Linked DNA regions of Homo sapiens: region 1 is linked to region 2. The links are contacts of gene promoters, found by promoter capture Hi-C in human tissues and cell types (Jung and others, 2019). All regions are on one chromosome and are shown on one strand. The core of a region is centred on a gene start or on the middle of the fragment in contact, and the rest is flanking DNA. Distances in the headings are between cores, read along the strand shown.

The links. The method cuts DNA at HindIII sites, captures the fragments that hold promoters and counts their contacts. A contact is called where the count stands out against the background at its distance.
Region 1: a contact is called between the fragment with the promoter of FA2H here and a fragment that was not itself captured in region 2, in 1 of the 25 tissues and cell types used here (dorsolateral prefrontal cortex).

The regions. Positions count from the first base shown.
Region 1 is chr16:74,773,362-74,776,713 of GRCh38, forward strand. FA2H (fatty acid 2-hydroxylase) reads right to left here and starts at 1,459. Exons shown (of 7, transcript NM_024306.5): 1 at 1,125-1,459. The coding sequence starts at 1,394. RefSeq lists silencers at 1,096-1,145, 1,186-1,555, 1,566-1,695, 1,706-1,765. The HindIII fragment of the contact is 21,235 bases long and covers 1-3,352 here.
Region 2 is chr16:75,122,217-75,125,686 of GRCh38, forward strand. It overlaps a transcript of ZFP1 not described here. Among named protein-coding and RNA genes, the nearest start is that of LDHD, 7.2 kb to the left of the region's middle. The HindIII fragment of the contact is 6,546 bases long and covers 1-3,470 here.

The DNA.
Region 1 (3,352 bases), core at 209-2,708, 350 kb before region 2:
TATGGGAAAAAACATAGCATATATAGGATTCGGTACTATCTGTGGTTTTAAGGATCCACTGAGGGTCTTGAAATGTATCCCCTTGGACAAGGGGGAACTACTGTATATCTAAGCATGATGGCCCCATACCAGTCCCAGAGCCAGGCCTGGGGAACATCAAGAGAGTCGCTTTGCCTCTGGCCTGAGCCTACCTGGAATCCTGTGGACTAGGTCTGTCTCCTCCACCCGAAGACTTTTGGGATGGAGCCAGCATTGATTTTGGAGTCAGATACATGTGGCTTTCCCACTATTTAGCTATTTGACCTTAGGCGCATTAATCAGAGCCTCCCTGAGCCTCAGATTCCATATCCTGAAATGGGAATAACAAAACCTGCCCCAGGTTGAGTTAAGGACTTAAATACCATCGGGAGCTGGTACTGCACAGAAGCGTGCAGCTCAGCACACAGTCTGGTCCAAAGTGCTGGTCCCTTTTCCTTGGCAAAACTGGCTCATGCCTTTCATTTCACTCTTTTGGAGTCCCAAGCCAGCGTGTAGGACAAGAATATAAGGGAAGGTCTGAGAGGTTGGAGGACACAGTCCACCCCAGACATGGCCCAGGCAAGGCCAGGGCGGCACCAGGAAACCCAAGCTAGTGAGAAGAGTTACTGATCTGTGCCTCTTTGAAGCAGAAGTGAGGTGGGATGGGGAGGTGGGAACAGGTTGAGCCCATTATCCAAACAGAAACGGAGAGTGGTTGCAAAGAGGGAGAGGCCGATAAGTGAAGAGGAAGGAAAGCCGAGGCGTATGGGGGGCTGGGGACAGAAACGGGAATCCAGGTTGTCGGAGGGCAGGGGCTGCAGAAGGAACACGCTGGAAGGAGGGGTGCTGGGGAAATGGGAGAGCTGGCACGGAGGCGGGCCAGGCGGTAAGGGTGGAAAGGAAGAGCAAGTTCCTGGAGAGAGGAAGGAGGGGTTGGAGGGGACGACAGTGACCTGTTGCCTGGAGAGAAGAGAGGGAAAGCGAGGGAAGGGAGGGCAGAAGCTGTCACCTTGGGTCCTGCTAGAGGGCAAGTGAACGGGGCTCGCCCGGGAGTGGAAGGCTGACGGAGGCCTGGGTTGGGGTGGGGGGCCCCGGCCCGGCTGTACCTGCTGCTCCCCGCGGAGCTCTCCCACGTAGTACTGCTCCAGCCAGCGGCGCGCGTTGGCCGAGTGCCTGTGCGGCGGCCCGTCCAGGTCGGCGCTGATGTCCTGGCCCGCCCTGGCCCGCAGCAGCTGCTCGCCCCCCGGGTGGTGCCGCACGAAGCTGGAGAGGTCGTAGAGGCGGGCCCCGCGGCGGACCCAGCACGCGCCGGCCGCCAGGCGCCGCTGGACCTCGGAGGGCGAGAAGGAGGCGGCGGGGGGCGGAGCGGGGGCCATGGCCGGAGACCGCAGCTCCCAGCGCGCAGCCCGGCGTCTGCTCTGCTGCCACCCTGAGCGCCTCTAACATCCCGGGAGCCCCGCGGCCGTTCCGGGCGGGCCGCCACCGCACCTGCTCATTTGCATACCGCGCTCCCATTGGCCGGCCGGGAGCCCCGGCAGAGCCGCGAGGGGCGGGCCCGGCGCCGGGAGCTGCGCGCCAGGTGGCCGCGGACAGGGAGTGCCGCGCCCGCCAGGTGTGTCCCGCGCGGGAGGAGGGTGGGCGGACACAGGCGGAGCGAGTCTCCCCGTCGCGGGTGGTTGTCTGGGCGGACATCCTCGGTGGCCTGATCGCTGCTGGAATAACTTCAACTGCTTCCACGGAGGAGCTGGCCGCATGGGACCCTCTGGCTCCAGGAGGTGCCCGAGAGAGCGAGAGGCGAATGAGGTGCTCGCCTCGGGTGCAAATATTTGTTTGTTTTTAAAATTTCAGTAGCTTTTGGGGTACCAGTGGTTTTTGGTTACATGGAGGAATTGTATAGTGGTAAGTCCTGAGATTTTAGTCCACCTGTCCCCCGAGTAGTGTACATTATACCCAATGTGTAGGGTTTTGTGTGTGTGTGTGTGTTACACCCCCTCCCATTCTCCCTATTGTCCATTATATCACTCTGTATGCCTTTGCGTCCTCATAGCTTAGTTCCTACTTATGAGTGAGAACATACAGTGTTTGGTTTTCCATTCCTGAATCACTTTCACTTAGAATAATGGCCTCCAGCTCCATGCAAGTTGCTGCAAAAGACTTCATTTCGTTCCTTTTTATGGCTGAGTAGTATTCTATCGTGTATATCAACTACATTTTCTTTATCCACTCATTGGTTGATGGTTATTTAAGTTGGTTCCATATCTTTTCGATTGTGAATTGGGCTGCAAAAAACAAACATTCGTGTGCAAGTGTCTTTTTCATATAATGACTCTTTTCCTTTGGGTAGATACCCAGTGGTGGGATTGCTGGACCGAATGGTGAATCTACTTTTTCTCTCCTCCCCTCCCCTCCCCTCCCCTTCCCTTCCTTTCCCTTCCCTTCCCGTGACAAGGTCTCACTCTGTCACCCAGGCTGGAGAGTAGTGGTGCGATCTTGGTTCACTGCAGCCTCGACCTCCCGGGCTCAAGCAATCCTCTTACCTCAGCCTCCCAAGTAGCTGGCACTACAGGCATGCACCACTACGCCTGGCTAATTTTTGTATTTTTTGTAGAGACGAGGTTTCACCATGCTGCCCAGGATGGTCTCAAACTCCTGGGCTCAAGCGATTTGCCTGCCATGGCCTCCCATAGTGCACTTTTTTTTTTTTTTTTTGAGACAGAGTCTCACTCTGTTGCCCAGGCTGAAGTGCAGTGGCACAATCTCAGCTCACTGCTACCTCCGCCTCCCGGGTTCAAGCGATTCTCCTGCCTCAGCCTCCAGAGTAGCTATGACTATAGGCGCGTGCCACCACGCCCGGCTAATTTTTTTGTATTTTTAGTAGAGACGGGGTTTCACCATGTTGGCCAGGTTGGTCTCGAACTCCTGGCCTCTAGTGATCCTCCCGCCGCAGCCTCCCAAAATGCTGGGATTACAGGCGTGAGCCACCGCGCCCAGCCCCAAAGTGTACTTTTAGTTTGTTAAAGAATCTCTGTACTGTTTTCCAAACAAGTTGTACTAATTTACATTCCCACCAGCAGTGCATAGCATAAGCATCCCCCTTTCACTACATACACGCAGACATCTACTGTTTCTTGACTTTTTAATAATGTTCGAGGGCAAAATTTAATGGGGCACCCCAAAACTCAGTCATCACTATATCTAATACCTGAACGTAATATTTAAAAAATTATATTGTTGGCTGGGTGCGGTAACTCACACCTGTAATCCCAGCACTTTGGGAGGCCGAGGTGGGCGAATCACGAGGTCAAGAGATCGAGACCATCTTGGCCAACATAGT
Region 2 (3,470 bases), core at 653-3,152:
ACTGCTGTGTCGTTCCCCTATTGGATAGGGTTGGACCGCACAGTCTAAGCTAATTCCAATTGACTATTTTAAAAAGAGCAGGAGTACCAGCCGGAGTGGCAGGGTGAGTAGTTTAGCAGTAAGGGCGGTTACAGAACAGTTGGCTCAGGATGAATCAGGACAGAGTAGGTGACCAAGAGTGACTCAGGTCAAAGCAGGTGACCAGGGGAACAGCTGTGAACTACTGATTAGGACTGGCGGGAAAGTTGTTTACTGAAACTAGAAGCTAGGGGGCAAAGAGAACCAGGAAGCTAAACTTTAAAATGGAGAATCAAAGAATAAGAGAGCTGAACATACTGACATACTGATTCTTTGAAGAGAAACTTGGAGTTCACTATATTTAACAAATCTTTAATAAATAAGACATTAATATTGGTTTAATAAAAATAGCTACATCTTAAATTTAGTAAGATTACCATAACTTCTCATCTTGTGGCTTTAGGCAGTCCGGTCTATAGGCAATAGTGTTTGTTTTGGAAAAGCACTGTTATCATCTTTGTTTCAAAGCTAAATTATAAGTTCCTCCCAAAGTTAGTTTGGCCTATGCCCAGGAATGAACAAGAACAGCTTGGAGGTTAGAAGCAAGATGGAGTCACTTAGGTGCAATCTTTTTCACTGTCTCAGTGATAATTTTGCAATGGCAGTTCCATAATTTTAAATAATGACAAGCACAGTTTTTATAAATAATCTAGGTAAGTAATTAAAATAAAATAAGTAAATATTATAGGATAAATATAGACAAACTCATAATTTTGAATCTAAAGTTAAATAATAGAGATTTTATTATTTGGGTATTTTCCAATAAAAATATATTTGGGCCAAGTGCAGTGGCTCACACCTGTAATCCCAGCACTTGGGGAGGACAAGGCGAGTGGATCACGTGAGGTCAGAAGTTTGAGACCAGCCTGGCCAACATGGTGAAACCTCATCTCTATTAAAAATGCAAAAATTAGCTGGGCACAGTGGTGCATGCCTGTAGTCCCAGCTACTCAGGAGGCTGAGGCAGGAGAATCACTTGAACCCAGGAGGTGGAGGTTGCAGTGAACCAAGATCATGCCACTGCACTCCAGCCTGGGCGACACAGAGACTCTGTCTAAAATATATATATGTGTATATATATATATATGTGTATATATATTTGTGGAATGTTTTCCTACAAATATATATATAAGAATGTGTGTGTGTGTGTGTGTGTATATGTATATATATATATATATATATATATATATATATATATATATATATGTAGGAAAACATTCTTTTTTTTTGGAGAAAGAGTCTTCCTCTGTCACCCAGGCTGGAGTGCAGTGGTGCAGGGTTCAAGCAATTCTCCTGCCTCAGCCTCCCAAGTAGCTGGGACTACAGATGCATGCCACCATGTCTGGCTAATTTTTTGTATTTTAGTAGAGACAGAGTTTCACTATGTTGCCCAGGCTGGTCTCGAACTCCTGAGCTCAGGCAATCTGTCCACCTCAGCCTCCCAAAGTGCTGGGATTACAGGTGTGAGCCACCACACAGGCCAAAAACATTCTTTCTTAAAAAAAGTTGTGTCCCAGCCAGGTGTGGTGGCTCACACCTGTAATCCCAGCACTTTAGGAGGCCAAGGAGGATGCATCACAAGGTCAGGAAATCAAGACCATTCTGGCCGACACGGTGAAACCCTGTCTCTACTAAAAATACAAAAAAAAATTAGCTGGGCCTGATAGCACGCACCTGTAGTCCCAACTACTCGGGAGGCAGAGGGAGGAGAATCACTTGAACCCAGGAAGCAGAGGTTGCAGTAAGCCAAGATTGCGCCTCTGCACTCCAGCCTGGGTGACAAAGTGAGACTCCATCTCAAAAAAAGTAAAATACAAATAAAAAATAAGTGTGTCCTTTTGAAAAAGGTGAACAATTTTTGTCTAATTGAAAGTTTTTTTTTTTTGAGACAAGAGTCTTGCTCTGTTGCCCAGGCTGGAGTGCAGTGGTACAAAGCTCACTGCAACCTCTGCCTTCCAGGTTCAAGCGATTCTCCTGCCTCAGCCTCCCAAGTAGCTGGGATTACAGGCACCCACCACCACTCCTGGCTAATTCTGATATTTTTTAGTAGAGACAGGGTTTTGCCATGTTAGCCAGGCTGGTCTTGGACTCCTGACCTCAGGTGATCTGCCCTCCTCAGCCTCTTAAAGTGCTGGGATTACAGGCGTGAGCCACCACGCCCGGCTTCAAAGCTAATTTAAAGGTCATGTATAAAACAAGGTAAAAGGGGCCGGGCATGGTGGCTCACGCCTGTAATCCCAGCACTTTGGGAGGCTGAGGCGGGTGGATCATGAGGTCAGGAGATCGAGACCATCCTGGCTAACACGGTGAAACCCCATCTCTACTAAAAATACAAAAACAAAATTAGCTGGACGTGGCGGCAGGCGCCTGTAGTCCCATCTACTTGGGAGGCTGAGGCAGGAGAATGGCATGAACCTGGGAGGCGGAGCTTGCGGCGAGCTGAGATGGTGCCACTGCACTCCAGCCTGGGCAACAGAGCAAGACTCCATCTCAAAAAAAAAAAAAAAAGCAAGGTAAAAGGAACCAGGGAATAAAAGAGATGTAAAAAAAAGTTATAAAAATAAAGAGGTTTTTTTTTTTTTTTGGTAAGAAAGCTTAAAGAGAAATAATTTCATATGAGAAAGAATTTTGTATGATAAATTTAGTACTAAAGTAAAATGGCTGGTAGTTTAAGAAAGAGGAATGGGCTGGGCTCACTGGCTAAGGTCTGGAATCCCAACACTTTGGGAGGCCGAGGTGGGTGGATCAAAGGTCAGGAGTTTGAGACCAGCCTGGCCAACATGGTGAAACCCCATCTGTACTAAAAATACAAAAATTAGCCAGGCATGGTGGCACGCACCTGTAATCCCAGCTATTTGGGAGGCTGAGGCAGGAGAATTGCTTGCACCTAGGAAGCAGTGGTTACAGTGAGCTGAGGTCATGCCACTGCACTCCAGCTGGGACAACAGAGCAAGACTCTATCTCGAAAAAAATTTTTTTTTAATTAAAATTATCACATCCTTCTATCTGCCTGTATGTACTTTTGTTTGTTTGTTTGTTGTTTTGTGACGGAGTTTGGCTCTTGTCGCCCAGGCTGGTGTGCAATGGCACAATCTCAGCTCACTGCAGACTCCACCTCCTAGGTTCAAGAGATTTCTCCTGCCTCACCCACCCAGGTAACTAGGATTACAGGCATGCACCACCACACCTGGCTAATTTTGTATTTTTTTAGTAGAGACAGGGTTTCACCATGTTTGTCAGACTGGTCTTGAACACCTGACCTCAAGTGATCACCCACCTGGGCCTTCCAAAGTGCTGGGATTACAGGCCTGAGCCACCGTGCCCAGCTGGAAGTTGTATTTTATGATCAAGATGAAAATTTTATAAATTGTTTATAAAATTTTGGAAAACAA